Linked DNA regions of Homo sapiens: all the other regions are linked to region 3. The links are contacts of gene promoters, found by promoter capture Hi-C in blood cells and fetal thymus (Javierre and others, 2016). All regions are on one chromosome and are shown on one strand. Each heading gives the region's core, a stretch centred on a gene start or on the middle of the fragment in contact. The rest is flanking DNA. Distances are from core to core; before and after follow the strand shown. Region 1 overlaps COL15A1 (collagen type XV alpha 1 chain). Region 2 overlaps COL15A1 (collagen type XV alpha 1 chain). Region 3 holds the start of GALNT12 (polypeptide N-acetylgalactosaminyltransferase 12). Region 4 overlaps COL15A1 (collagen type XV alpha 1 chain).

Region 1 (6,770 bases), core at 2,010-4,509, 170 kb after region 3:
CCCAGCACTCGGTGCAGAGAAACAGCAGAGGAGGGAAAGGAGGCGTTATGGGTTCTAGGCCTGGCTTGGCCAAACTCACTGCATGGCCTCAGACCTGCTCTCTTGGGTCCCTTAACAGACCTTTCGCTTTGAGTCTGTTGTTGGGATCCCGGTTCACAGCGCAGGTGGAAAGCCTTCCTTGCAGTTGGTGGAAGCGCAGTTCCCGTAGAGACCGCCAGGAGCCGCTGCCGCGCACGGTCCCGGGGCGTCCTCAGCCTCCCTCGCGCCTCCGTCCGGACATATCCGCAGCGCTCCTTCACCTGGAGCGAGGAACGCTCCTTAGCCTCCTCTGGCTTTAAATGCTAACTAGCGCTAGCGCTGGGCTCAGGTCCCAGATGATCGTCTGTGAGAGGGAGCTTTGCAAAGCCAGCTACAGTTCTCTAGGGAGGCAAGGCTCCAAAGCTCAGGCTAGTCCCGGGCACTGCTTCAGGACCCCACAGATGGAAGGACTGATCCAGCCCATCGCACGGAAGGGGAAACCGAGGCCCAGCGGGGTAGGGGAGGTGCCAGATGATGTCCCTGAGCCTGTGGCAGAGAGGAGGAGGAGAGGTGAGAGTTCGCTCCTGTTCTTCATCTCTGGCCAAATCGCTGTCATCTGTGTGGAAGGAAAACCTGAACCCTGCTCTGTTTGTTTCTTCATGGCTGGGATTCTGCCTGGTTTCCATGGAAACTGGCTTTGGACCCTTGGGAGGAAAGTCGCACCCTGCCCTGACTGCTCAGATTTTCCTCTGCCTCCTCTGTCTCTGAAACCGTCTGATTTCTCCTCTCTGCGCCCTGAGGAGGGGCCACCCCAAAACTGCACTTAGGAGTCTGAACTAGATTTGAGGGAGGGAGGCTCAGGTTGTCTCTCCCTGTGTCCGTTCCTTCACAGCATCCCCTTGGCTCTGTGGATGTTTAGAGGAGGGGGGATGACTTTGGCCCTTTTTGCAGAGTGAGAGTGGGGCCCCCGTGTGTTGGGGTGCAGCTGAGCCTGACTGGAAAGATTTAGATGTAAGAAGATGGGGAAGAGTGATGTCACTAGAAGGAATAGCATGAGTGAAGGCAAAGACACGGGGGGAGAATGAGGAGATGAAGCAGAGGGTGTCTCGAGTAGAATTTTGCTTTTATGCTGAAGGCACTGGGGAGCCATTGAAGGCTTTGGAGCTTGTAATAGGAGCAGATGACTACTAATGGTCACCTAGATAGTGAGCTGCTTGAGCACACATGTTCCAGGCTTAGCTCCATGTCTCCAGCACTACACAAGGCACAATGTGGGAGCTTTAGAAATATGATCAAATTCATGAATTGGAAAAGTAAGTTGAAAACCCCCATTGGAAATGAAGCTATCTCTAAGCATTAATGAAGTGAGAGAATAAGACCGGTCAGATGCAGCCCCAGGAAGTGTTTGAAGGCAGTGAAAATACATAGAATAAATCACAGTGGATGTGGCTCTGAGAGTCTATCTGGTCTAACTCTCTGATGGGAAAACTGAGATCAGGGAGGGGGACTAGCTGGCCCAAGGTCACAGACAGAGTCTTGAACCTGAGTCCTTCCTCCCCTCCCTGGGTCTCTCATTGCCCCATGGATTCATGCCTCCCAGATGGGCTCTCTGGGCCAGTGGATCCAGCATCGTGGAGATGGGAGGGAACGTGGACTTTCAGGTGATGGATGGGCATGCAGTGAGGTCACTGTTGGATGTCAGACTGGAGCCCGACCTCAGTGACTCTCACCAGGGCCTCAGACTGTGAGCCTGGCACCTTCAATTCAGGAATGCCTAGGATTTAGTTCAGCCAGCAAACACTTCCTGAGGACCTGCTCAGGGACAGAGCCTGGGTGTGGGGGAGACAGGGAGAAGTGGACGCCAGTTCCTACACTTAAGGAGGTTCCAAGATGGTAGGGTCCAACACCTTAGTCATATAATGCCATATATGCTACATAGAGTCAGGGCCAAGTGCAGGAGCGGGAATGCCCAGACTACCTGGTGGGGGAATCCAAGAAGACTTCATGGAGGAGGTGATGACATTGAAGTTGGGCCCTGAGATGTGTGGAGCAGTTCCTCAAGTGGAGGGAACAGCATACACAAAGGCTCAAGGGTGTAAAATGTAGGACCCATTCAGGATACCTTGAGTTTTCCAGTATGACAATTGCATGGGAAATAGCAGGGTAATAATAATAGGGAAAGAAATGGCAGCTACCATTTATTAAGCACTCTGTGTGCTAAGCAGTGTGCTAAACATTTTAGGTATATTATTTTATTTAAGTCACACAACTGTCCTCTGAGAGAAGTATTATTATCTGGGGATAAGTGTGGGCCGCTTCCAAGAATCCTCAGGCTGCAGAGTTCCATCAGCATGCTCCACGCCAGTCCCCAGTCCCCTCCAAAATGGTGGGATGTCTTCCCACCAGCTGTGATCTCCACCCTCCTCCCTTCTTGCCCAGCACAGAGCCATCCAAGGTCAAGCCCATGGACCCAGTTGCTGGGCCTGTTTGTCTTGGCTCCCTGGCTTCTCCTCCCCTCCCTGGTGGCTGCCTAAACAGGTGGCCCTCCTGCTGGAGGCCAAAGGGAAATGAGCCAGCAGGCCCAGGCGCAGCCGCGAGTGAGCATGGGTCACTCCAGGTCAGGGGTCGTCCCCTACCACGCCATGCCATGGGACAGTGGATGTGGAAGGATGTGGTGGGGGTTGCTGAGAGCAGAGCTGGGCTGCTGGGGCTGACTTGGGCTTGCTCTACATTCATGGCTGGCCTCCCTCTTGGCGGACTCTGTGGAAACAAGGCCTGCGGGCCAGCGCCTATCCATGTGTCCTGTCTTGAATGGCTGAGGTCTAGGGGGATGGAGGGTGGGAGGGTTAGGAAGGGATCTTTTTTGCAGACTTTGGTTTTTGTTAAGCTTATACCTTGCATTTCCCATCTGTCGTCTCATTGAATCCCCACATGGGAAGTGGGCAGGGACCTCCCCTGATCACCAGGAAGTCATCGCCCAAAGGCTTTGTGTTTGGTAAAGGGCAAAGGAGGGGTCTCATCCCAGCTGTGTCCAAGGAAGAGGATGTTCTCCACTGCAGGCTGCCTCCTTTGCCCCCTCTCCAGCTGACCAACCATTGGCCAGGACCTGGAGTGGTCGGGGCTGTGGGAGGGCACCAGCTCTGGGACTCGTGGTACCAAGACTCTGTCCACCCTTGCTTGGCTGCCCCATCTGTTGCTTCCTGGCTGTGCCTCCTGGCCATGGAAGTCTCCCTGAACATCAATTTCCCTGTCTAGAAAACAAGGATGTTGGATAGATTCATGAATTTTTGTTTTTAAGCAGACTCCTAGGCATAAGAATTCCCAGAATTGCCACATGCAAGCCTGGATCTACTGGCCATGGGAAGCACTAGGCTGGTTTAAGCAATGAGCTTTCTGAGTGGGAGCCTCTCAGGCCCTTCTCCCTGTGTCGCCTGAACGCTTAACCTGGCCCTGGATCCCTCAGAGACACCACTTGGAAACAAGCCACAGGATGTGAAGCTCTGGTGCTTTTACTCTCTGTGGCACCAGGAATTTTCCGAGCAGAAAGAGGCTTCCCCCTCCTGTTCCCAGCAGGAAAGAGAGAGGAAATAGAGGAAAAGCTTTTTACTGGATTGGATAAGCGAAGAAGAAAGCAGAGCTCTCAGTAGGGTGTTTGTGGTTTTGTTTTGTTTTTGTCTTTAAACCGTGGAGGAAAGAAAAGAAATCTCAGTGGGATGTGTGGTTTTCTTTGTTTCTTTTCCTTCTTTTTTTCTTTCTTTCTGTACAAAGATAAGCTGTATCTGAGTGAGGAAAAGCAAGAAGAATAGGTTTTATGATTTCTATAAGTGGATGCAAGGAGATAATCTCTTTAAAAATATGTAGATGTCTTTACTTTTCATACCATGTATATGCTGTAAAATAGAAAAAAGTATAAAAAGATATCCAGTGAAAAGCAAGTCTCCCAGCCCCCAGCCACCAGCTTCCTTCCCTGGAGACAACCACTGCCCCGTTTCTTGTGTATTCTTCTAGAGCTATTGTAATATACCATATATATTTAAATATATATGGTATATTTAATTTGTATTAGTACATACATTTCCAACTGATAGCAATTCACTTCTGCACCTTATTTTGTCTGTTTTTATATAGTACATCTTGATTGTTTCATATTAGTACTTAAGGAATCACATCTTTTGAAACGCTGCCTTGGATTTCGTTGTGTGAACCTGTCATCATTTATTATATTAATCATTCCCAAAGATGGGAATTTTAGGTAAATTTAAACCACGATGCTGTGAATATTTGTGTATGTACTTTATATTTCACATATGTAACTTTATCTGTTAAAAAATTCATAGACGTATGACTGCTGGGTCAACAAGTACATGCACATTTGCCATTTTGATAAATGTTATTAAATTGCCTCCCACCACGTTATAACAATTTATGCTCCTGCCAGTAACGCAGGAGAAGGCCTGCTGCCTTAAACCCTTGCCAACACAGCGTATTCTGGTCTTTGCCAATCTGATAGGGAAAATGGTATCCCTTCGTAATCTTAACTCATTCTATCATTATGAATGAGGTTGAGTATTTTTCATATGTTTAAGATTTTAATTTCTTTTACTGTGTCTAGAATTTTCTATTCTTTGCCCATTTTTCTTTTGGGTATTCATTTACTTTGCATATTAGAGAAATGAGTTTGTTGCTGTGATTTTTGTAGCAAATATCAGTCATTTCATGGTTTTGGGGTTTTCTTTGACATTGCAGGGATTATCTTTATTATTATTATTATTATTTATTAGTTCTATGCAGAACATTTTTTTCTAAGTGGTCAAATTTAACCAAATTTACCAATCTTTTAACTAAAATTAATTTCTGTTTTAAAGCAAGTTGTAAACTGGAGAGGATAAGCATTCAATTGAGAATCAAATCTGAGTTCATGGCCAGCAAACACTTCCTCTCTATTAACCTTAGTTTAGTGTTTTCTAAAATGAGGTGATTGGAGGCTGAGCGCAGGGGCTCACACCTGTAATCCCAGCATTTTGGGAGGCCGAGGCAGGAGAATCACTGATTCCAGGAGCTCGAGACCAACGTAGGCAATATAGCGAGACCCTGTCTCTACAAAAAAATGAAAAAATTAGCTGAGTGTGATGCTGCATGCCTGTAGCCCCAGACATTTGGGAGGCTGAGAGGTGGAAGGGTCATTTAAGCCTGGGAGGTGGAGGCTGCAGTGAGCTGTGATCATGCCACTGCATTCCCACCTGGGCAACAGAGCAAGACTCTTGTCTCAAAAAAAAAAAAAGAGGGGACTTGAGAATATGTACACATTCATTCATTTGTTCATTCATTCACTATAAGCCCTGGGTTGGTTACTGGGAAGACAGATGGCCCAGTGGGAAGAGAGGCAAGTGACCCAATAGTGACATGCAGGGGCTATGATGGAGGACCCCGTGTGTACAGAGAGGACTTCTAATGCAGCCCCCAGAGGGGAGGGTGTGGGTGCGGGAGGTGAAGCGAGATTTCAGGGGAAGCGAGGCCTGGGCTGATGAGCAGGAGTCATTCAGTGAAAATAACTGGGCTGGGCTGGGGCAGATGGCACAGAGGAAAGCATTCCTGGCAGGGGTGGGAGTCCCTGGGACAGCATGGGGCACGCTGGGGCTGTGTCAGGCATGTCAGGGAGTAGGGAGTGCAGCTGGGTCCTGACCACAGAGGGCCTCTTGAGCCAGGTGGCAGCAGCCTGGTCAGCCCTGGCCCTGAGGGCCATGAAAAATCCTATTTCATAGAAGGCTTCTAAGCAGGATAGCAACAGGATCAGATGTGCTCTTTTGTCGAGGAGGGGTTAATCGTTTTCATAAAAATTGTATGAAATATTTTCCATGAAATTTGCTATAAAGAAAAATACAATGAATATTTCTTTTGAATACCACCTGAACAATTAACACTATCACTACCGTTGAAAAGCCCCGTGGACCTCTCCCAAATTGCATCTCTCTGCCTCCCCTAAATGTTGGCAAGAATATGCTGCTGGTGGGTCTGCGACATGCATGACACGGTTGCTTCAGAGAACAATTTTGCAATATTCAGGGAAGCTGTAGGTGCACATACCCATATTATCCAATAATTCCACTTCCAGCTGTGGAATTACCTGCACAGGTAAGCAGGAGGAGATGTGTATAAGGGAGTCCGTGGCAGTATCATTTGTAATATTGATGGAAACCTCACCTTCCACCAACAGAAATGTGAATCAACCCATTGTAGCTTATTTATACCATAGAGTACTGTTGTGAAAATATAAGGCCAGGCCAGGCGCGGTGGCTCATTCACGCCTGTAATCCCAGCACTTTGGGAGGTCAAGGTGGGCGGATCACCTGAGGTCAGGAGTTCGAGACTAGCCTGGCCAACATGGCGAAACCCCGTCTCTACTAAAAGTACAAAAATTAGCCAGGCATGGTGGTGGGCACCTGAATCCCAGCTACTCAGGAGGCTGAGGCAAGAGAATCGCTTGAACCCAGGAGTCAGAGGGTGCAGTGAGCCGAGATTGTGCCACTGCACTCCAGCCTGGTCAACAAGAGCGAGACTCTGTCTCAAAAAAAAAGAAAAGAAAATATAAGATCAGAGCCACATGTATCAACAGGGATAAATCTAAAAAATACAATGCTGAGTGAAAAATAAAAGCAAGTTTCAGAAGAATGTGTGCATCATGCCACCATTTATATGAGGTGTAGAACACACACCATGGTTCTACATTCTGTTAGAAACACGTATCGAGTGGA
Region 2 (6,604 bases), core at 3,953-6,452, 230 kb after region 3:
ATGATGTGTACTAAGGGCTACTAGAAAGACCAGCTAGCTAAACCCTGGTCTCAGGGCAGAGGCTGTGCGGATTCCCCTGTGAGCCGCCAGCTTCCAACACCACACCTGGCACAAGTAGGTGCCCAGGAACTGGATCTGAAATTCTCATTCTTGCTCCTTCCCCAGGATACCGAAGGCTCTGGAAGCACCCAGCTATTGAATGAACCCAAACTCTCCAGACCAACGGCTGCAATTGTAGGTCGCCTCTGAAACCTTCATTATGAGGGTTGTCACACTGTCACACTACAGTGAGGAAGCTGTGGGCTGCATCCCGGCTCTGCCACTTTCAATAACTCACCTTCTCTGTGCCTCCAGCCCCCAACTGTGCAATAGGGAAATGAGATGCTCTTTACAGCTTGTGTCTTTGAGGAACAGCATAGAAGTTTTGCAGAAAACATGATGTGGGAAGAGAACTTGAAAATCATTTTTATCTCTCTTCATCTATTTCTCTCTCTCCCTCTGCCTCTTCTGTCTCTTACCACTAAGCATCTCTACTTTATTTCCTCCCTCCAGTTGCCCCATTCAATGCACACACTTTGCCCCAGGTCAAAGCCCTGTGCTCCTGGCAGGTGCCCCTCCCTACTGCCTCCAGCCCCTGGCAGGTGTTGTCCATCTCCTGCCATGAAGCGATGCCGGCTCTCAGGAGGACCGATCCCCTGGATTTCATTCTCTTTGTTAAATGGGCCCCAGAGCTGAGCCCTTCAGTCTAGCACAGATTCAGGGTCAAGAGGACCCTCACCCAATGCTGGGAGAGGGCCGCTGATTCTCTCACTCTGTGGAGTGTTGCTTCCTTCTGACTCCAGAAGGGGCATTTTTCGCTTATTCTTGGTTCCCATTGCCTGGGACAAAATAAGCATAAAAGCTTAGGGGGAGATGGTGAGACAAGAGGCTAGATGGAGGTGAGCAAAGTGACTAGAAGAATATTTATTTTTGTTTATTTTTCCAGGGTCTCAAAGGAGAGAAAGGAGACCGGGGACCCAAGGTGAGGTCACAGAGCCAAGGTGGGGGTGGGAGGGCTTTCCAGCCTGGTTCTGGGAGCATTATCGCTGTACAGTGAATTTTTTTCTCACTTCTTGCTGCTTTGACCAGGGAGAAAGGGGGATGGATGGAGCCAGTATTGTGGGACCCCCTGGGCCGAGAGGGCCACCTGGGCACATCAAGGTCTTGTCTAATGTGAGTATCATTCAGGTCAGAGCTTGTCTACATATTTTCCACCTTTGCCAAAGGGAGGAGAAGGTTGTCCATGACTTCAAAGCTTCTGGCTATGCAGGAGGCATGTAGCCAGTGCCTGGTGTTAGAACTTCCACCTGCCAGCACCTACCTGTTCCTCCCCCAGTTCCACTGTTCTCTCACATGGTGCTTCTAGATTTGTCTCTTCTGATTAGCAGCATTTGGGGTCAATTGAAAAAACAGGCTAGGAGCATTAGAGATGTTGGGGTCTTGAGGAAGCCCCAGATAAGCAGTGCACACTTTCCCCAGCCAAGTGCAGAGCACATTGAGAAATAAAGCCAAAGATGAGGAGGTAGGCCCAGATACCACCTTGATTACTGATGGAGGTTAGGTGGAAGGCCTTCACCCAGTGGGAGAGCCACATGTTCCTGCCAATCAGACGGACTTGCCCATGGGTTGCCAGATGTGCTTCCCAGAGGCAGGCAGATCTGAAGGAAAGAAGTGTGGCTGAGCTGGGCATGCCCCTTGGTGCTTCCCAAACTGCCCATCAGGAAGGTCCCTCCACCTCACCACGGAGGGGGTACAGGAGCCAAGAGAAGCCAAGGATTACACCCTTCATGTCACAGGAAACATCTTTATGTGCTCCCTTTAGATGGCTCTTTGATAGTCTATTAAAACTAAAACTAAAAATACCCATTCTCCAAAATCCCACATGGGAAGATGTCCACACAAATGGAGGAAAGCATCCTCTTCCCAACTCTCCTCAACAAGGAAGGCAGTAACTTCATCCTTCAAACCCCCATCATGGTACAGCAAGTGGCCTATTTACATGTCTGACTCCTCCACCTGCCCTCTGGGGCTTTTTTTCTTCTCTGTATCCCCACCACTGGCCTCATAGTGCTGGTTTAATCAGTGTTTGCTGAATGAAATGTTTGGTGTCATTGAATTCTCTATTCCTATGATAAATACTCTGGCATAAGCACTCATGGGCATGCACTCTGCATCAGGTCCATGCTAGGCTCTGTGGGTATAAAGATAAGTAAGGCCAGGCACAGTGGCTCACACCTGTAATCTCAGCACTTTGAGAGGCCGAGGCAGGAGGACTGCTTGAGCCCAAGAGCTTAAGACCAGCCTGGGCAACATAGCAAGACCCTGTCTCTGATATTAAAAAAGTTTCTATTTTAAAAAATTAAAAATAAAGATAAGTAAGACAGAGTTCCTGTCTTCAAGGAGCCTCCAGTGAGGTCAGGAGAAGGGCTGTAACAGAGCTGTAACTGACAGGCAAATGAACATAAAGAGGGGAACAAGGGAGAAAAGACTGTTTGGGTTATGAGGAATCAAGGAAGACTTCCTAGAGGAAGTATCTTTGAGCAGGGATTGGAAAGCTGAGAAGGATTTTACCAGGTAGGCACGGAGGACAGAACTTCCAAAGCTCTAGTGTCAGGGATGCCCTGAGCCAAAGCAGAGGGTAGGACAATGTGGTGTGCTCCAGGTCGAGGGAGCTGACTGGCAGAGGATAGTGCACATGGGTGTGTGTAGAGAATGATGGAAATTGGAGAGAAGGCTGGAATGTGGGCTGGGACCAGATCGCATGCATTTAATATTAAGACATCACATCATGAAAAATCCTGGCCCTTTAGAGAGAAATAACATCATGCTGGTAGACCACAGAAAGACAAGCCCCAAATAACTGGAAAAAGGATGACTAAAGTTAGAAGAAAAAAAAAACACGATTTTTAAAAATCAAATATGTGTAAGGGTGTGGGGAAAAAGGTAATCTCATGTGCTTCTGGTGGAAGTGTAAATTGGCCCCTTTGGATGGCTCTTTGGCAGTCTTTTAAAGCTAAAAATATTCATATTCCAAAATTCCACATGGAAAGATCTCCACACAATATGGCCGAGTGAAAAAAGCAAGTTGAGGAGTAATACAGCCTGATGCCATTTATGTAAAATAACCACATGGACAAACACACACACCCCAACACTGTGCTTTCTGTGGGTGCATATAATATGTATATGTTTAAACTCTAAAAAGAGAAGACATTCGTATATTGTGTGATTTAAAAATTAAGTAAAGGAGGAAAGTGCGAAGGCAGCTCAGAGCTGTTTTATAAGAAGGGGGAGGGAGAGCTGTGTTTGGCAGTGGGCTGAGGGCGTTCTCAGTGTCTGCGGTGTTCCGCTATGCTGGGTGACTTTAATTAAAGCTTTGCTGCCAGGAACAAGGCAGAACACATGCCATCCTTTGTCCTCATTGTCTGATTTTTCTCTTTTCAGTCCTTGATCAATATCACCCATGGATTCATGAATTTCTCGGACATTCCTGAGCTGGTGGGGCCTCCGGTTGGTATCTACAGCTGCCCCAGAATGTGGCTTTTACCCAGACGCCCCTGTTGAAACAAAGTCGGGTTACTTTGGAATCCTTTTAGCTCCTGAAGCGTAGAGCTAGAATATATCAAAGTAGAATGGAAAGAAAGCTTTGCATTTTTTGAAAAGTTGCTTTCACATTAATTTGATCATGTGGAAAGTTGTCTCCAAAGCAGTGGAAGCTTCCAGTCCTGTGCACCGGCAATATGTGTCATGGAAATTAGAGAATGCTAAGTAACAAACAGATGACATCTGTTGCACACTTTTGGCCTGCTTTTATTTACATTATCTTATTTCATAGTATAGGAAGAGCCTGGAGACACCTTTCCTTGTGCTCAAGGGAAACGAGGAAGAAATGGACTCATTCTAGTCTTTATAGCCCCATTTTAGAACTCTGGAAATTATCTGTGTGTTAATTTCCAGATCTCTAAAATGGGATTATAATGTATATAAGAAATACACATTATTTTTGGCCAGAAGTGGTGGCTCACGCCTGTAATCCCAACACTTTGGGAGGCTGAGGCAGGCAGATCATGAGATCAGGAGTTTGAGACCAGCCTGGCCAACATGTTGAAACCCTGTCTCTACTAAAAATACAAAAATTAGCTGGGCATGGTGGCATGTGCCTGTAATCCTAGCTACTTGGGAGGCTGAGGCACGAGAATCACTTGAACCTGGGAGGCGGAGGTTGCAGTGAGCCAAGATCGCACTACTGCACCCCAGGCTGGGTGACAAAGTGAGACTCTATCTCAAAACAAACAAACAAAAAAAACCAAAATATACATTATTTCTGCAAGTTGGCAGAGTTGACTCATGGCACAATGGCCCTAAGATGAAGGAAGCTTCCTCCTACAGCCTGTAGAATAAATACTCATTGCATCTCCCAGCATCTGCTGGTCAGCACAGGAGAAAGGAAGGAGCTCTGGCCTTAGGAGCCTTGAGGTTGCAGCCCCATCTTCTCCACACACCACTCTGAGCCCCTAATTCTCTTCTCTGATGACACCTCACCAGCCTTTGAGGCAACTTGTAAGAAGTGAGGGATGTGAAACTGCTTAGCACACTGTGACGCTCTGTGCAAGTCATTGTGGAGACAGGTTTATGCCTTCACAGCTGTGCAATGCCGATGTCCCTGCCTCTCCTGCAGATCCCCATGAGGTTGCCCTGAATCCCATTCATCCAGATCCAGGGGAAAATCTAGTGCTGCCCCAAGATTCCTGCAAATATCTGCAGACTCTTCTGGCACCAGGTTTCTCCCCTGCTGAGTGACCTCATTGTGAGCCATCTTCCTGTCTCCTCTGTACTGCATCCATTTGATTTCTATGAAAACCAATAATCCAAAATACCTCAATAATGAAACCCTAGAGCAAACCAGCTAACAAGTGAAAGTTTCTTCCCAAGGGGTCTTTGTTTTCCCCAAGCTATTGGAGGTTTCTGATATTAGGTGGGTGGATACTGAAGCAAAACACAGAGAGACTAAAACCAGAGATTGGGCATCCCTGTCCTCACAGTCCCTGGGCCTTGTCTGCCTGCATTACCATGCCTCCACCCCTTCTCTCTCTTCCTTGCTTTCTTTCCAGTCACTGTCCTCCCCTTGGCAAATCCAGACCCTCACAGGGCCCCTTCTTCCCTAATGCTGTGTCAATCCGTCTTCCCAGCTGTGGGAACATGCTGAGGCCTTTGGAAGGGGCTGGGAGGGAGGGGGTCCTGCTGACTCTGGAAATGCCGCTCCTAATCCAGCGTGCTCTATCTTTGGTGTGTCACAGGGGCCGGACGGGTTGCCTGGGCTGCCAGGATTTCCAGTAAGTACCACCCTCGCTGTCTTCTATCTGTGCCCCGTGGCTGCGATCATTCTGTTCCTTCCACCTAGAATGGCATTTCCTCCATCTATGCATGACTGAGCTCCAGGGGCATCTTGTTCATTAACTTTTTCTTGATATTTTTGATAGATATGGGGTTTTGCCATGTTGCCCAGGCTGGTCTGGAACTCCTGAGCTCAAGAAATCCATCTGCGTCAGCCTCCCAAAGTGCTGGGATTACAAGCATGAGCCCCTGAGCCTGGCTGATTTTCTGAACTTTTTACATTTTCTAAAGGCACATATCATATGATAACACTAAAAATAGTGCTAACTAGACGTTAAAAAACAAAAGAGAGAATGGCAACCATGACCACGATTGTGACCATGACTCTGACCATGATTCTTGGTTAGCAGAAGAAAAGGCCAAACCCCTAAGCTCCAGCCCCGGCTTGGCTGCTCCAAGACCTGGGGCACATTTCAGAGCACACTTTCCTCTAAATGAGTGGTCCTGTGTTCCTGAGGGAGTCCCAGGCTCTGCAGGAGAGCCTCCAGGACCTCCACTGCAGGGAGTAAGGAGGGGGCCAAATAGGCACATTCCAGGCCACTGACCTTCAATAAGGGAAGCTTCACTGGACATATTTGTATATATTAGGCTTTCATTTAAGACTTTATTTGGGGGAAAAAAAAGGAAGGAAAAGAGTTTCACTGCTAAACAATAATAACAAATAGTTGAAAGCCACTGCTGTAATGGGTAATTCACTCTTTCATCCAGACAAGACAGGAACTTGTGAAAAGTTAAAATAGCAATAAAGTGTTGAAATGCCTTTTTGAGGCAGATGTGGCTGTGTGAGTCATTGTCACAGGCATTCAGTGTCTGTTGGAGTTGAGAAGAGGTTGCCTCTGGCTGCATGTGTGGATTTGGCTCTGCAGAGGGGTGGGTGGGCATTCCTATGGGGGGGGTGGCATGAGTGCTGGTGCAGAAGCAATGGAGGAGTGCAGAGAGGCTGCGGGAAGGGAGTCAACCTGATGGTGTGGGAGATGAGATGTTGATGCCTGGCTGGGATGGGCTGGGGTGCCAGGCTAAGGTACCTGGGTCCCATCTCATAGGTAGTGGGGAGCCAGAGAAGGGGTGGGAGTCGTGGAAGGGGATAGTGGAGGAGGCGGGCTGCAGGGTGGCCTGGAGGAGCCGTGGGGCAAGCAGATGCAGCAGGCCCAGATAATAGGCTGGATCAGTA
Region 3 (7,402 bases), core at 4,226-6,725:
CACCTTGCTGCTCAATCTGGGGTTCTTGGACCAGCAGCACTGGTATCACCAGGGAGCTTGTTAGAAATGTGGCATCTTGGGCCCACACCAGACCTGCTTAACCAGATCTAGCATTTCAACAGGATCCCCAGGTGACTCACCATACCATACATTAAAGTTTGTGAAGCACAGATCCAGCACATCTTTCTATGCAAGTATAGCTATAGCCTTATTGTTTATGAATTCTCTTCCAGCCTTTTTTTTTTTCCATTGGTCCCTGTGTTGGTTTGGATCCTCTAAGAATCAGATGCCTAGATGTTTGTTTGTTTGTTTGTTTTCTGGGAAAAATACCTACAAAGGACAAAGAGGGAAAGTGTGTAATCCCAGCATTTTGGGAGGCCGAGATGGGTGGACCACTTGAGGTCAGGAGTTTGAGACCAGCCTGGCCAACATGGTGAAACCCCATCTATACTACAATACCAAAAAAATTAGCCAGGTGTGGTGGTGCGTGCCTTTAATCCCAGCTACTTGGTAGGCTGAGGCATGAGAATCGCTGGAACCTGGGAGGCGGAGGTTGCAGTGAGCAGAGATCACACCTCTGCACTCCAGCCTGGGCGACAGAGTGAGACTCCGTCTCAAAAAAAAAAAAAAAAAAAAGAGGGAAAGGGGAAAGTCGGGGAAAAGGGATGGGGAGCCCTCAGACCATGATGCAGGTCTGATACTTGAGAAAGGAGAATGGGAAGTGACGAGGGAAAGTCTCAGCCAGGCAGATGGGGGATTCCCAAGCACGGGTTGTGTCCTATATCATGCAGATGTGGCCAGGTTCTGGTACCACACCATGCTCGGTCACTGACTGGGAGTAGCCAGAGGATACCACAAAGGATCCAAAGGCATAGCCACTGGGAGCTGGCAGTCAACCGTGTTTCCCCTAAAAGTTTCTCCCAAAGGGTAATCTGAGCAATGCACCTCATTTCCAACACAATTCCTTTCAACCAACTTTTTTAAATTAAAATTTTTTCTTAATTTTGAATTTTTTAGGCATGGTATCTTGCTTTATTGCCCAGGCTGGAGTGTAGAGGCTATTCACAGACACCATCGTGGTGCACTGCAGCTTCAAATTCCTGGGCTCCAGTGATCTTTCTGCCTCAGCCTCCTGAGTAGCTGGGACTATAGGTGTGTGCCACGGTACCAGGCTCAGCCAGCATTTACTAAATACCTTCTGTGTGCTAGGCATTATGTGTGTTGAATGATAGAAACATGGCCTCATGGCTCCCAGGAAATCCCACATGACTGCAGAACAGTGGGGTCTATGAGTTTTCATCGTCAATTCAAAGGAAGATGTCACAGTTTGGAGGATGCCACTGACAGCTTCATGGCAGAGCTTGGCTACAAGTTGGGCAGAAATGATGGGTGGGGTCTAGGTCGTTGTAGGAAAAAGGAGGAAACATATTGGAAGGAGAGAGCAGGGGGACAGGAGGACCACAGACTGACAGAGTGGATTAGGCAGGAGATAAGGAAGGCTTAGAAGTAAAATAATCTCGAAAGAGTACAATATTTACTTTAAATGTCTTTTTTTTCCTAATAAGGTAACGATTGTTTTAAAGAATTCTGATGTTGTAGAAATATAGAATGTAAACTCCTTGAGATCAATGGCTTTGGATATTGTTTACCTCAAATCCCCAGAATCTAGCACACTGACTCCCAGATGGTAGGTGATCAATAAATATTTGTTGAAAAAAAAACAAATAAATGGAACAAAAGTGAAAGGACCACAGAATCTCACCCATCAGAAGTAAATATAATATAGTTAATGGTTTGGTAAATATTCCTTTAGATTTTTTCCCCTTTCATATGTTAATATATATTATTTTACAAAAATAGGATCATACTATTCATATAGCTCCACGACTTGCTTCTCTTTTCTTTACAATGCATCTTGAACACATGTGTATGTTAAATGCCTACAACTAACTCATGCTTGCAAATAGCACTGTGGTATATTATGGTATTGTACGGATGTGCAATATTTTATTTTATAATCTCTTGATGGAAATTTGGATTGTTTCCAACTTTTTGCTTTTATATACAATACTGCCATAAGCTTCCTTGTATGCATATCTTTTGAGCACTTACGAGTCTATGTTTGTTGGATAGATTCCTAGATGTGGAATTGCAAAATCAAAAAGATGTTAATATTAACATTTCTAATAAATGTTGCCTAATTGCTTTCCAAAAGGTTATACTAGTTTGCATTCCTACCAACAGTGGATGAGAGTGTTTTTTCACATCCTTGCCAACACTGGAATTAATAGCCATTTTCATTTTTGCCAGTCTGATAGGTGAAAAAATATTTCAGGGTAGGTTTATTTTGTATGTATTTTAGAGAGATCGAGCATATTTTCATACTTTTATAAACTATTTATATCCTTTTGGGTGGGAACTGTCTATTTAAATCCTTTGACCATTTTTATTTCTGTTTGTTCTCTTTATTTCCCTATTGATTCACATACTGGGTAAATGTCATCTGCAAATATCTCTTTCTGACTTGCCTTTTGTTTCTGGACTTTGTATTATACTGGAAGCCTTACAGAATTCAAAATTTTTATATAGTCACATTTAGAAATATTTTCCATATGGTCTCTGGTTTTTCTCATTCAATACTTTTATAATTAAATTCCTTCCCTTCCCTTCCTTCCTTCCTTCCTTTTTTTGCTTATTTACTGTGGCATCTTCAGATCATTTGGAATTTATTTTGATGTAAAGTGTGATGTTGGGACTTGATTTGAATTTTTTCCAAATGGTTATCAAGTTGTCCCAATTATTACTTGAATTAGGCACATGTTCCCCACTAATATTTGAAATACCACATCTACCATAGATCATATTAAACTCTAAAAGGAATGTAATAACTCCTATGAAGAGAGCTAATATGACAAATTAAAAGCATCTTCTAGAGATATCTACTTGTTGGTGAGCAGCCGATGACATAACATGGTACTGTTAGTGAACAGATAAGCCCCCTAAAAATAGCAATAAACCCAAGGGCTTTACCTCTGTTGAAAAGATGCTAGATTTCCAACAAGCTCCCAGGTGGTACCAATGCTTCTGGTCTAAATATCATACTTCACTCAGCAAGGTGCTGGACATCTTCCCTTTGCCTTACTGACACTCTCTCCACTCTGTTTTGTGCCCCGGGAGGCTGACTGTGCAGACTGTATCACTCAATCTTCTCAACAACCCTGTTCAGGTGGTGCTATCATTAGATCACCATTTAATAGATGAGCAAATTGAGCCGAGATAAGTAAAGCAACTTGCCTGAGGTCACACTGCAATTCGTGATGGGGCTGGGTTGAGCTCAGGCAAGTGGGCTCCAAGGTTGTGTTCCGACCTCCTAAGCTAAGCTGCCTTTGCATCTCATTGCAGCCTGCCCAACAGTGAGTGGTGTGGTGGGAAATCCTGGACTGTGAGTCAGGAGACCCAGATACAAATCCTCCCTCTACCGCTTGCATGTTGTGTAACCTTGGGCAAGTTGCTTCACTTCTTGAGCCTACATATTCTCATCTGTCAACCTTGCAAGGTTGTCATAGGGTGAAATGAGAAAGTACATGAAAAAGAAAGTCCAGCAGTTTACAGCACACAGTGTGTGCTCAGTAAACAATAGCTTTTATCTGTTACCTGGGGCTTAAGTCCATGTCTTGTAAGGCCTAATTGCATTTCTCTTTTCTCTGTATCTGAACCTCTATTGAGAAGCATTCCAATTTGGCAAGCGGATCCAAGACATTATGAATTGTAATCCTTGTCTGTTTTCTAATCTGACCGCAGATCTTAAATGTGTTGGGTGTCTGAACAGAGGCCAAAGGGCTCAGGTCCAGACCTACCTAACACAACCGCCTTCTGGCATTAACCAGCAGCCTCCATTCTGCGTGGGAAGCAGGCGGGGCCCTGAGCACTGTGGGAAGAGCCACTTCCCTCTAGTCTAATATTAGCAGCAGGTTGTCCTGAGTGGGAGCTGCTTTGCATGGTTCATCCCAAAACCCACCCCCCTCCTGCAACCTGAGGGAGATTTCCTCTGGGGATACCAGTAGCCAAAGGCTGTATGAAGACAACAGCAAGTCAGATTCTACCTCTACCTGAGCCGCCAAGTTCAAGGTCCTCTCCCCACCCTGTGTCTCAGACCCCGCATTTATCAATGAGATAATTGGACCAGATTTGTGCTTTTTAAACTTTCTGGGCTTCTGGTCTCCTTGAGAATATTTGATAAAAAGCTTTGGACCAACTTCCCATGGTAAAACAAACAACAACAAATAGAGCTTACACTCTATCCTTCTACAGGGGATACAGAATGATTCTTTTCCCTGAGCTAGACACCAGCAGAGGGAGTTCCAGATTAATTTAAGATATGATTTGAAATCTCTGCTATCACTTTTACATTCAGATATCTGTGTAGACATTACTTCATCAGAGAAGCTTTCCAAAACCCCCAAACTAGATCAAGTTCTACTATTCTAAGCCCTTTTAGCGCCCTGTAATTCTTCTTCAAAATACTTAACACAATTCTAATTATCTTTTTAATATTTGTCTACTCCATTAGACTTACTTCGTCCCTGGCAGCTCAAGGCTCCCACAGCAGTGATCTCATGAACAGGGCGGCAGCTTCATGGCCTTTTTTGGTTGTTGTTTAATAGAAACAGGATCTCGCTTTGTCATCCAGGCTGCAGCGCAGTGGCGCATAGTTCACGGTAACCTCCAATTCCTGGGCTCACACAATCCTCCTGCTTCAGCATCCTGAGTAGCTGGCACTATAGGCACGTGCCACCATGCATGGCTAATTCTGAAATTTTTCTGTAGAGATGGGAGTCTTGCTATGTTGACCAGTCTCGTTTTAAGCTCCTGGCTTCAAGTGATCCTCCTATCTCGGCCTGGGATTACAGGTGTGAACTATCATGTACAGCCTTCATGGCCTTTTGCTCCTAGCCTCAGAGGTCACAGAGCTATCACGAGGCGAGCCAGGCGAGGGTTTGCTATTCAAGGACTCCAAAGAGTATGGCAGAGGCTGGGCCTGCAGAAGTCAGTGGGGCAGCGTGGTGTCTGTTGATCTCATCGCACCTCCATCTCCTCATCTGTAAAAGGGAGCTCGTAATCCTAGTTGATGGTTGTTTTATTGGACTGTGTAAAGATCAGATGAGATAATGGCAGTAGAATTCATAACACCCTGCAGGGTGTATTCAGCCAACACTTAGCGCCTACAATATGCCAGGCGCTAAGGGTTTTACCACCACTATCTCTTTAATAATGCACCATAGCCCAAGAAGGAAGATGCAAGTCTCAGCCAGCCCACTTGAAGACCCTGCCGAAATGAGCCACCCCGGGGGCTGCGCTTGGGCTGGCGCGGGGCTGGACGGAAAGGGGGCGGCGCGCAGGTGGGGCGGGCCGGGGGCGGGGCGGCACGGCGGTTCCGGGATCCGGGTCCTGGCCTCCACCGCCGCCTTGGGGCGCGCAGATCGCTGGCTGCAGTTGGCGGGCGCATGTGGGGGCGCACGGCGCGGCGGCGCTGCCCGCGGGAACTGCGGCGCGGCCGGGAGGCGCTGTTGGTGCTCCTGGCGCTACTGGCGTTGGCCGGGCTGGGCTCGGTGCTGCGGGCGCAGCGTGGGGCCGGGGCCGGGGCTGCCGAGCCGGGACCCCCGCGCACCCCGCGCCCCGGGCGGCGCGAGCCGGTCATGCCGCGGCCGCCGGTGCCGGCGAACGCGCTGGGCGCGCGGGGCGAGGCGGTGCGGCTGCAGCTGCAGGGCGAGGAGCTGCGGCTGCAGGAGGAGAGCGTGCGGCTGCACCAGATTAACATCTACCTCAGCGACCGCATCTCACTGCACCGCCGCCTGCCCGAGCGCTGGAACCCGCTGTGAGTGCACAGCTCTGGGGAGGAAGCCCGCCCTCAGAGCCCCGGGCCTCAGTTTCTCCATCAGAGCAGTGGCAGGGCGGGGAGCTGGGGTCTCCAGGATGGCGCGTCTTATTGAGTCTTTCTCCGAAGACGATAGTGTAAGAGCTCACATGGGGGCGGGGAGGCAAGAAAGTAAAAAAGACGAAAGTAGAAAAAAAATTACCAGAAATTGGCAAGTCTGTTAGTGATCTCTTAGCTCCCTTCTCCTTGAGAAGTTATCATCTCCCTGAAAAGGTGAGGGTCAGGGCTAAGCAGAAGGGTTTAAGGCGAGGACCCCCCAGCACCCAAAGGACAACCCCGCTCTGCCCGCCTCGCAGTGCCTCCGCGAAACTGACAACTCCTCCGGGCGGTGACCGGCTCCATTCATTCTCTGTGTGTGCCAGGGCCTAAGGGACAAACAAGATGCGAGGGAGCGCCCCACAGGTGAAGCGAAAGATGGCTGTAAGGCCCCCTCAGCGCTAGAAAGCCTCCTTGTGCTCTCCCTGGGCATTGGATTTCTGAGCTTTGGGTGGAGGAAGGCGGGAAGGGGCACGGGGTGGGAAGGGCTCCTTCTGGCCGTGATCCACCCCAGCTCACTCCTGTGGGTGGTGCTGGACTGGAGCCAGCGTGGTCAGAGGCCTAGTTCCTGTTGGAGCTACTGGCTGGGCAGGTTGCGCCCCTGCCTAGGTGGGGATCCAGGGCACACGCTGGCAGCAGGAGGAAGGACAGGTGGCTGCTGCCACCTTTGCCGCTGGGCCTCCCGGGCTCTCACTTTTTCTTCGAAGTGTCAGGGATCTTCCAAGTCCTTTTTTGAGCCCCTTCCTTACAGACTTTGAGGAAAAGAGGACTCAGAGAGGGGGTTCCCATTGGAGCTGGTGGTGGCAGCCTGCCGTGTGCACCAGGCACCTGCCACTCCTCTCCCCTTCAAGCCATTCCTGCTTTACAGGTGTGGAAATAGGTTCGGAAAGGATAGGTGACCCACCCAAGGCCCCTCAGCTGGAATGTGGTAGGACTGGTCTGGAGGGACTATGGCCCTTCTGGCCCACTTGGCACCATGCTGATCTCAGGATTTTAGGGGCCTGCTCCATGGTACCTTGGCCAGAGAGACCATGAATGATGGAATGAGGATGCCCCACCTCTGCCCCACTGTTTCCACTGTCTTCCCTGTTTTGGGGATCTCCTCATGCCTAGCCTCATGCTTCTGCCTGAGGCATTTTTCACTGTTAGTCTTTTTGAATAAAACTTTGTTGGGATTGATAGTAGTTCCTCCACTCACCAGCCTAACGCATGTTTAGCTCCTCGAAACCCCGAGGGTGCCCGCTGAGGCAAGGTGGAGGGGAAGCTTTCAGGTTATACCCAGCTTCAGATTAAATCCAGCCCAGGGGAGATAAAATCCTGGTTCTTTTGCTCGTCACTTCTGTGATCTCTGGCAAGCTGCTTAGCCTCTCAGAGCCTTGGTTTCCCTTCGTTTGCGAAATAGGAAACTCATAAAAGTGAGTCTCCATGCAT
Region 4 (6,324 bases), core at 606-3,105, 190 kb after region 3:
AAGGTGTGCTTAGCCCTTCCATGCATTTTCTATTTCCTGCCTTCAAGTAGTTCTTTATTGTCCTCATTTTTACAGAGGAGGAAGCTGAGGTTCAGTGAAGCTCCATGACTTGCCCAACATAACTAAGCTTATAAGTGGAGAGCTGGGATTTGATCCAGGTCTGACTGTAAGAAATGAACTATTAAATTCTAAATGATGGGGCTTCCAAGAATCCTCCTTGTTCCATGGACCAGAAATTTTTTGATTTACTAGATTCTGAATTAAGGAAATAACCTTCTGTTATTAGTCAGGAAAGGTAAGTGATGCTGCAGTAACAAATTAACCTCAAAAATCTTAGTGCCTTACAAAACAAAGATTGGTTTCTTGTTCATACCACGAGTTCAACACTGATTCACAGGATTCTTCCATGCACCCCCAGCCCCTTTAGCTTAGAAAGTGATGAGGCTATCTGAATGCTGACAAGCGCTGGGTCCCGCGAGCTGCTGCTTGGGTCCAGGGGTGATGCTGTGACTTTTGGAGCCCATGCTAGGATTTCTGCGTAGATCACTGAAGCACTCTGTGTTTCTGTTGGGGTTTTGTTTGTTTGCTTTTCTCTAGTTGGTAATGTTGGTTAAGACACTGACTGGCTTTGGAAAAGCTATATAGATGCTGAAGTTTCCTCGGAAGGAACCACACCCGTCTTTCATTTTCATAGGTGTTTTCATATCTGGCATTGAATTTATATGCAGTTTATTGAGTGCAGCCTGGTTCATTCATTTGTTCACTAATTCATTCAATCATTCCCTCCTCTAACAGATCTTTACTGGGCACCTCCTCTGGCTGACCTGGGATTTGGGAATCACAGAAATGTGGTCCCTGTGCTCAGAGAGCTTTGGCTGAGATGAATAGTCTCACTGTCAAGTGAACAGAATCTAATGACCTCTAGTAGGCACCTCTTTCAGGCCCTGGGAGGTGCAGCCATTGCCCAGGTAGACACCAAGTGGGGCCAAGCTTTCCCCTTGGTTTATTCAGCATCTTGTGGATATATTATTTTCTTCAGTGATATTCTCTGTCATTTCTTCTGCTTTACTGCCAAGTAAATCATTTTGCATCTCATTTTTCCTCCCTTCAGCCCAAAGAAGCAAAAGTTGAACCCATAAACACACCTCCAACTCCATCCTCCCCCTTTGAAGACATGGAACTTTCTGGTGAACCTGTACCCGAGGGGACCCTGGAAACCACCAACATGAGCATCATCCAGCACAGCAGCCCCAAACAAGGCAAGTCCGGATGCACATGCCTACGTAGTGGCCTTTTATTGGGTGATTACTATGTGTCCAGCCGGGGCCATGTATGTAACATACAGAATCTCATTTAACCTTCCCCTCAACCCTTTAAGAAAGGGTGAGAACCACCCTCATTTTACAGACAAGAGGAGGAAATTGAGCCACAGAGAAGTTAAGTAACCCAGCCAGGAGCAAACAGCTTGTGAATGGCAGAGCTGGCATTTGAGCTCAGATAGCAGATCTTCTAACCCCCAGATCTGGAGCTTCTAACTCCCAGATTCTATTCCTTCTGGGGTTTAACAGAAAAGTTTGTAATAATCCTTGCTCTTTGTTGAATACCTACAGTGTGCCAAGTGTTTGGATATTTTGTCTCCAACACCGACAGCATACCGCCTACTCAGTAGCACTAGCCACTATTTTATAGGTGGAAAAACCAACACTTGGAAGAGCTAAGTCCAGAGTCCCCACCCATTCTGACTTTTGCCACAAACTCCCCAACTCTCAGAGGATCAGCTAAACTCCTGTGTGGCACAAGTGAGAAACTGATGGCCAGAGAGGGGCCAGTTACCCAGCAAGGCAGCAGCAGTCCCTAGGAGAAGAGCTGGTCCCCTGGCTGCCCATCCAGGGCTCTGGCCCCTGCCTCTTGTCCCCCTACCTGTGCAGAGGAGCACTGGTAAAAGCCCAGGCGTCAAACACTATCCCCCAGGCACTAGCTTGGCATATGCCCAAGCCCTGAGATCGCTTGTGGTTTCTGTCATTTCTCAGAGGGGCCGTCACTTCAGACTGAAGATGTAAGTACAAGATCATTCCTGGCAGCACTGTTCTTAGGAACAAAAATAACCCAAACTGCCCACAGTAGGGATTGGTCGGCCAAATTCTATTTCATTCATACATACAGCCCTGACACTGGTGATACAGAAGATTTAATGACCCAGGGACATGCTCGTGGTATATTCCACCAAAAAAGCAAATTCCAAAATTATGTCTATGACCCTAATTTTGAATATATGTTATTTATATCTATTTACATATAGCTATGTAGAGCGATGTGTGTGTATTAGATACATCACATATTAGACGTAATATTCATCAAAATGTTATAAGCAGTTATCTCTGAGTGGTAGGATTATGGATGGTTTTTACTTTTTTTATTGTACTTCCGTATTTTATTAATACAAGTCTTCTACAATAATACATATCACTATTCTTTTTGCTTCTGCCATCAGTTAATGAGTGTTATTTTAACAACTAAATTTGGGGAGTCTGTGGGTCAGAGAAAGTATAGAGAACTGGAGAGAAAAAATTGTAGGATAATTTAATAACGTCATGACAGAGCCAAGGAGGCAGGGTGTTGCTGTGGAAATACTGCCCGCTGGGGAGAGTCAGACAGCTTGGAAGGAGGCCCTGCCTAGCCCCCTATTTGCTGTCGGCCTGGGGCAAGTTGCTGATCAGTTTCCAAGCTTCAGATTCCTTAGCCGTCCTCTGGGAGCATGAACAATCCCCGATGCTGGGTGGATGAGAGGGCTGAATCTGGCCGCAGTTGTGGAAGTGGCTTCTGAATTGCGAATGCTTTTCTCAGGGGTGGAATTAGGATCTCTCAGCAAGGGGTTAAGGTGAAGGGGCTGGGGCGAGGGCTTTCCTAGACTGAGAAGATGAGGTCCACGTGGGGACTGGGCTCTGATCCCAACGCAGCTCGCCTGTTCCCGGGATCAGCCACACTCCTTATCTAGCAGACAAAAGGTCAGTTGAAAGCAATGGAGCTAGCCAAAGTGTCCTTTTCTTCTTGATGTGTAGACAGCCCGGATGGTGGGAGAAAGCCCTGGCTAAGCAAAGCCCCTAATATTTGCATTCAGAGCTTCCCTGACACCATCGTGACCCGTGGAAGGGGCCACCCCACCTCCTTCTTCCCAGGGGTCAGTCCTTGGAGGACAGGCAATCGGCTGCTTGCACGGCACCCCCTGGTGGTCAGAGCAGGGAAGACGAGAGTGCTCGACCCGTGCTGGCCACTCTTCCATCACAGGATGGGACAGGAGTGGGTGGGGAGGGGGGCAGAGTCCTTTGGAGGATTTGGCACCTCTTCCAGAGTTATTGTGACCATGGGACCTGCGTGAGCACAGCGTGTGTGGGAAGGGCCTGGCCCGGGGACAGGCTGACCTGGCTTCAGGGCCCTTCCCAGTCTCAGTCTCATTCCCAGGGTTAATAATACTGAGGTATTGATGTGTGGATCCGGCAGGTCACACCTGTCATGGGGTGATAGTGGGATCCCCAACCAGGATCTGCCCACCTGCAGGAAGGTGGTGGGAGGGGTCCCGGTGGGCAGGACAGGTGGGCCAGCAGGAGGGTTGCTGGAGGGAGTGCATGGGACAATCTTGGCATGGGCCCAGCCATAACAGGCGTGCAGTCATGGTAGTACAACTTCTTTTTCTTCTTCTTCTTCTTCTTTTTTTTTTTTTTTAGACAGGGTCTTGCTCTGTCACCCAGGCTGGAGCACAGTGGCACAATCATGGCTCACTGCAGCCTTGACCTCCCAGGCATGAGCTCCCTCCTTAGGCTCCTGAGCAGCTGGGTCTACAGCCACATGCCACAATGCCTGGCTATTTTTTTTTATTTTTAGTAGAGATGGGGTCTCGCTATGTTGCCAAGACTGGTCATGAACTCCTGAGCTCAAATGATCCTCCTGCCTTGGCCTCCCAAAATACTGGGATTACAGGCATGAGCCACCATGCCCGGCCAATGAATAAGTTTTCTTTGCTTCAAAAATCCATTTGCGTTTTTTTTTTTTTTTGAGATGGAATCTCACTCTGTCACCCAGGCTGGAGTGCAGTGGCACAATCTCAGCTTACTACAACCTCTGCCCACTGCAACCTCTGCCTCCTGGGTTCAAGTGATTCTCCTGCCTTGGCCTCCCAAGTAGCTGGGGTTACAGGCATGTGGAATCACACCTGGCTAATTTTTGTATTTTTAGTAGAGATGGGGTTTCACCATGTTGGCCAGGCTGGTCTTGAACTCCTGACCTCAAGTGATCTGCCCACCTCGGCCTCCCAAAGTGCTGGGATTCCGGGCTGCTTTTTAAATTGCAAAAGAAATATATGCATGTGGGAACAATTAAATTAATGCTCAGTTGTATAAACCAGAAAAATAATAGTTTCCTCTTCTTACACTCCTATCTTCTGGAAAATATCAGTACTAAACACTGTGGTTTAGCCAAGTATATAAATATATAAGCACATACATATACATATACATATACATATATGTATATATTATGTATGTCATAATCATTATTACATAACATGAATATGTTATATATATAATAATGATACGATATCTATACTCATACTTTTTTTTTCTATTTTACACACGTAAAACCATATCAACAATGAACATTTATCAATTGCTTACTATATGCCAGGGGCTGTCCTCAATGCTTTATTTGCATTAACTTACTTAGTCCTTGTGACACACAGTACTCAAAACAACCCTATGAGGTAGGAATTATTGTAATTCCCCATTTCTAGATAAGGAACTTGAGGCAGAAGTTGAGCGACTTGCCTGCAGGTGGTGCCAGAGCCTGGAATGGAAACCACACATGCTTTGCCATGTATGTTGTTCTGCAACTTGTTTTTTCCCCCTCTTGACCCTGTGTCATGGTATCTGAACATCTTTCCAAGTTAGCTGGTGAAGAGATACCTCATTCTTTTCCAAGACTGCAAAATGTAGTTATTGATAGCAGAATGCCTGCTTCCTGTAGGGTCTGGTGAGATCCTGAATGACACACTGGAGGGGGTTCATTCTGTGGATGGTGACCCCATTACTGACAGCGGCTCAGGGGCTGGGGCCTTCCTTGACATTGCTGAAGAAAAGGTGAGTAGATGGTAAATTTCATTTGATTAGTCAGTAGTAGGCTTGTTTGCTTATTTCAAACTTGGTGATGATTTTACTGAGCACCAGAGAGAACCACAAGGGTTTTGGTTGAATAGCATCAAGATTGCTTCTGTCCTCATGGTACAGAGGAGGTCAGAGTCCCAGGGCCACAGAGGCTCTCCAGGGATGCACAGGACTGGTGGGGGATATGCAGTGCAAGCTTGTCCTCACACTTGCCTGTGATGAGCGAGCGTCCAGGCCTCACCAATGCAACCCCGCCCTCCTGCTCAGTTGTGAAGGCACATAGCTTTATCAGCCCTTTGAGTCCCCTTCAAGACAGAATCAGATTAACTGCAGGTGTGTTCATGCTATTGTTTGGTAATTGGCTTTTACACCTGCAAAGCCAGTTTTTGAAATGCTGGGCTCCCTAGGGTGCAAAATTAAAGCATAAATAGTTTTCTCACAATGGCCCCTGCTGAAAACCCACAACGCCAGCTCATTCCTTCCCTTCTCCTGGGATGAAAACTTAAGACAGTTCTCACAGCTCTCTCAGTCACTATCTGGTAACAGTCAATTTTCACAGATATTTAAAAGTCAAGCCCAGCATAATATCAAAAATTCAACAAAATTACAAACACAGTTTCCCCCCTTCTATACTCAGGCCTACTGTAGACTAGGAAACTGCCAGGAAAGGGAAGCATGGTTAGGGGTTTCCTCTCTATTTTCTTACTTCTCTCTCCTCCTTATCCTCATGATCTCCCCATCCTCTAGAGCTATTTTTAACATCTGCAGGGGCTGGCCCACCTGGAGAAATGGACACAGTTGTACTTGGCTGGTCAAATTGTGATCTGGGCTTTTGGTGTGGAAGATGCCTGATTGTTGGAACTCTCTCTTATGGGGGCTTTTGTGGTTCCTGGGAGGTCTTCCTGCAGGGGACCTAGGATCAAAATTCCATAGTTTGCCTTGTAACTTCTGCCCGGGCTTCCACCCCATACAGGTTGCCCAGATCTTCTGCGTGGCTCTTTGAGTACAGCCCATTTCAGCCAGCTCCCTTTGGAGAGATTTTATCTTGTCTATCTCCAGCAAAACAACTGCAGGACAAATACCCCTCCCTTCTCCATCCCCCTCCCCTCCTCTCCCCTTTCCCTCTCACCTCCTCCTTCCCTCCTCTCTCCTTTTATTCCCTCCCTTCCTC

What was found. Contacts are between HindIII fragments. The CHiCAGO score rates a contact against its expected background, and 5 or more counts as called.
Region 1: a fragment that was not itself captured here is called in contact with the fragment with the promoter of GALNT12 in region 3 in 1 of 17 cell types (M0 macrophages); the score reaches 6.3 in M0 macrophages.
Region 2: a contact is called between a fragment that was not itself captured here and the fragment with the promoter of GALNT12 in region 3, in 1 of 17 cell types (M0 macrophages). The highest score is 5.0, in M0 macrophages.
Region 4: a fragment that was not itself captured here is called in contact with the fragment with the promoter of GALNT12 in region 3 in 3 of 17 cell types (M2 macrophages, M0 macrophages and M1 macrophages); the score reaches 15.4 in M2 macrophages.

Annotation. Positions count from the first base shown.
Region 1 is chr9:98,974,875-98,981,644 of GRCh38, forward strand. The region is part of intron 2 of COL15A1 (collagen type XV alpha 1 chain); the gene reads left to right. Among named protein-coding and RNA genes, the nearest start is that of COL15A1-AS1, 34 kb to the left of the region's middle. The HindIII fragment of the contact is 712 bases long and covers 2,904-3,615 here.
Region 2 is chr9:99,035,185-99,041,788 of GRCh38, forward strand. COL15A1 (collagen type XV alpha 1 chain) reads left to right here. Exons shown (of 42, transcript NM_001855.5): 19 at 166-234; 20 at 986-1,021; 21 at 1,129-1,212; 22 at 3,484-3,549; 23 at 5,337-5,372. Among named protein-coding and RNA genes, the nearest start is that of TGFBR1, 67 kb to the right of the region's middle. The HindIII fragment of the contact is 1,578 bases long and covers 4,414-5,991 here.
Region 3 is chr9:98,802,195-98,809,596 of GRCh38, forward strand. It overlaps GALNT12 (polypeptide N-acetylgalactosaminyltransferase 12), which reads left to right and starts at 5,476. Exons shown (of 10, transcript NM_024642.5): 1 at 5,476-5,875. The coding sequence starts at 5,505. LOC124902229 (a long non-coding RNA gene) reads right to left here and starts at 5,386. Exons shown (of 2, transcript XR_007061689.1): 1 at 4,577-5,386. RefSeq lists silencers at 5,358-5,447, 5,548-5,617. The HindIII fragment of the contact is 2,789 bases long and covers 4,445-7,233 here.
Region 4 is chr9:98,995,823-99,002,146 of GRCh38, forward strand. COL15A1 (collagen type XV alpha 1 chain) reads left to right here. Exons shown (of 42, transcript NM_001855.5): 6 at 1,112-1,259; 7 at 5,017-5,129. Among named protein-coding and RNA genes, the nearest start is that of COL15A1-AS1, 54 kb to the left of the region's middle. RefSeq lists enhancers at 2,471-3,227, 3,228-3,983. The HindIII fragment of the contact is 1,735 bases long and covers 989-2,723 here.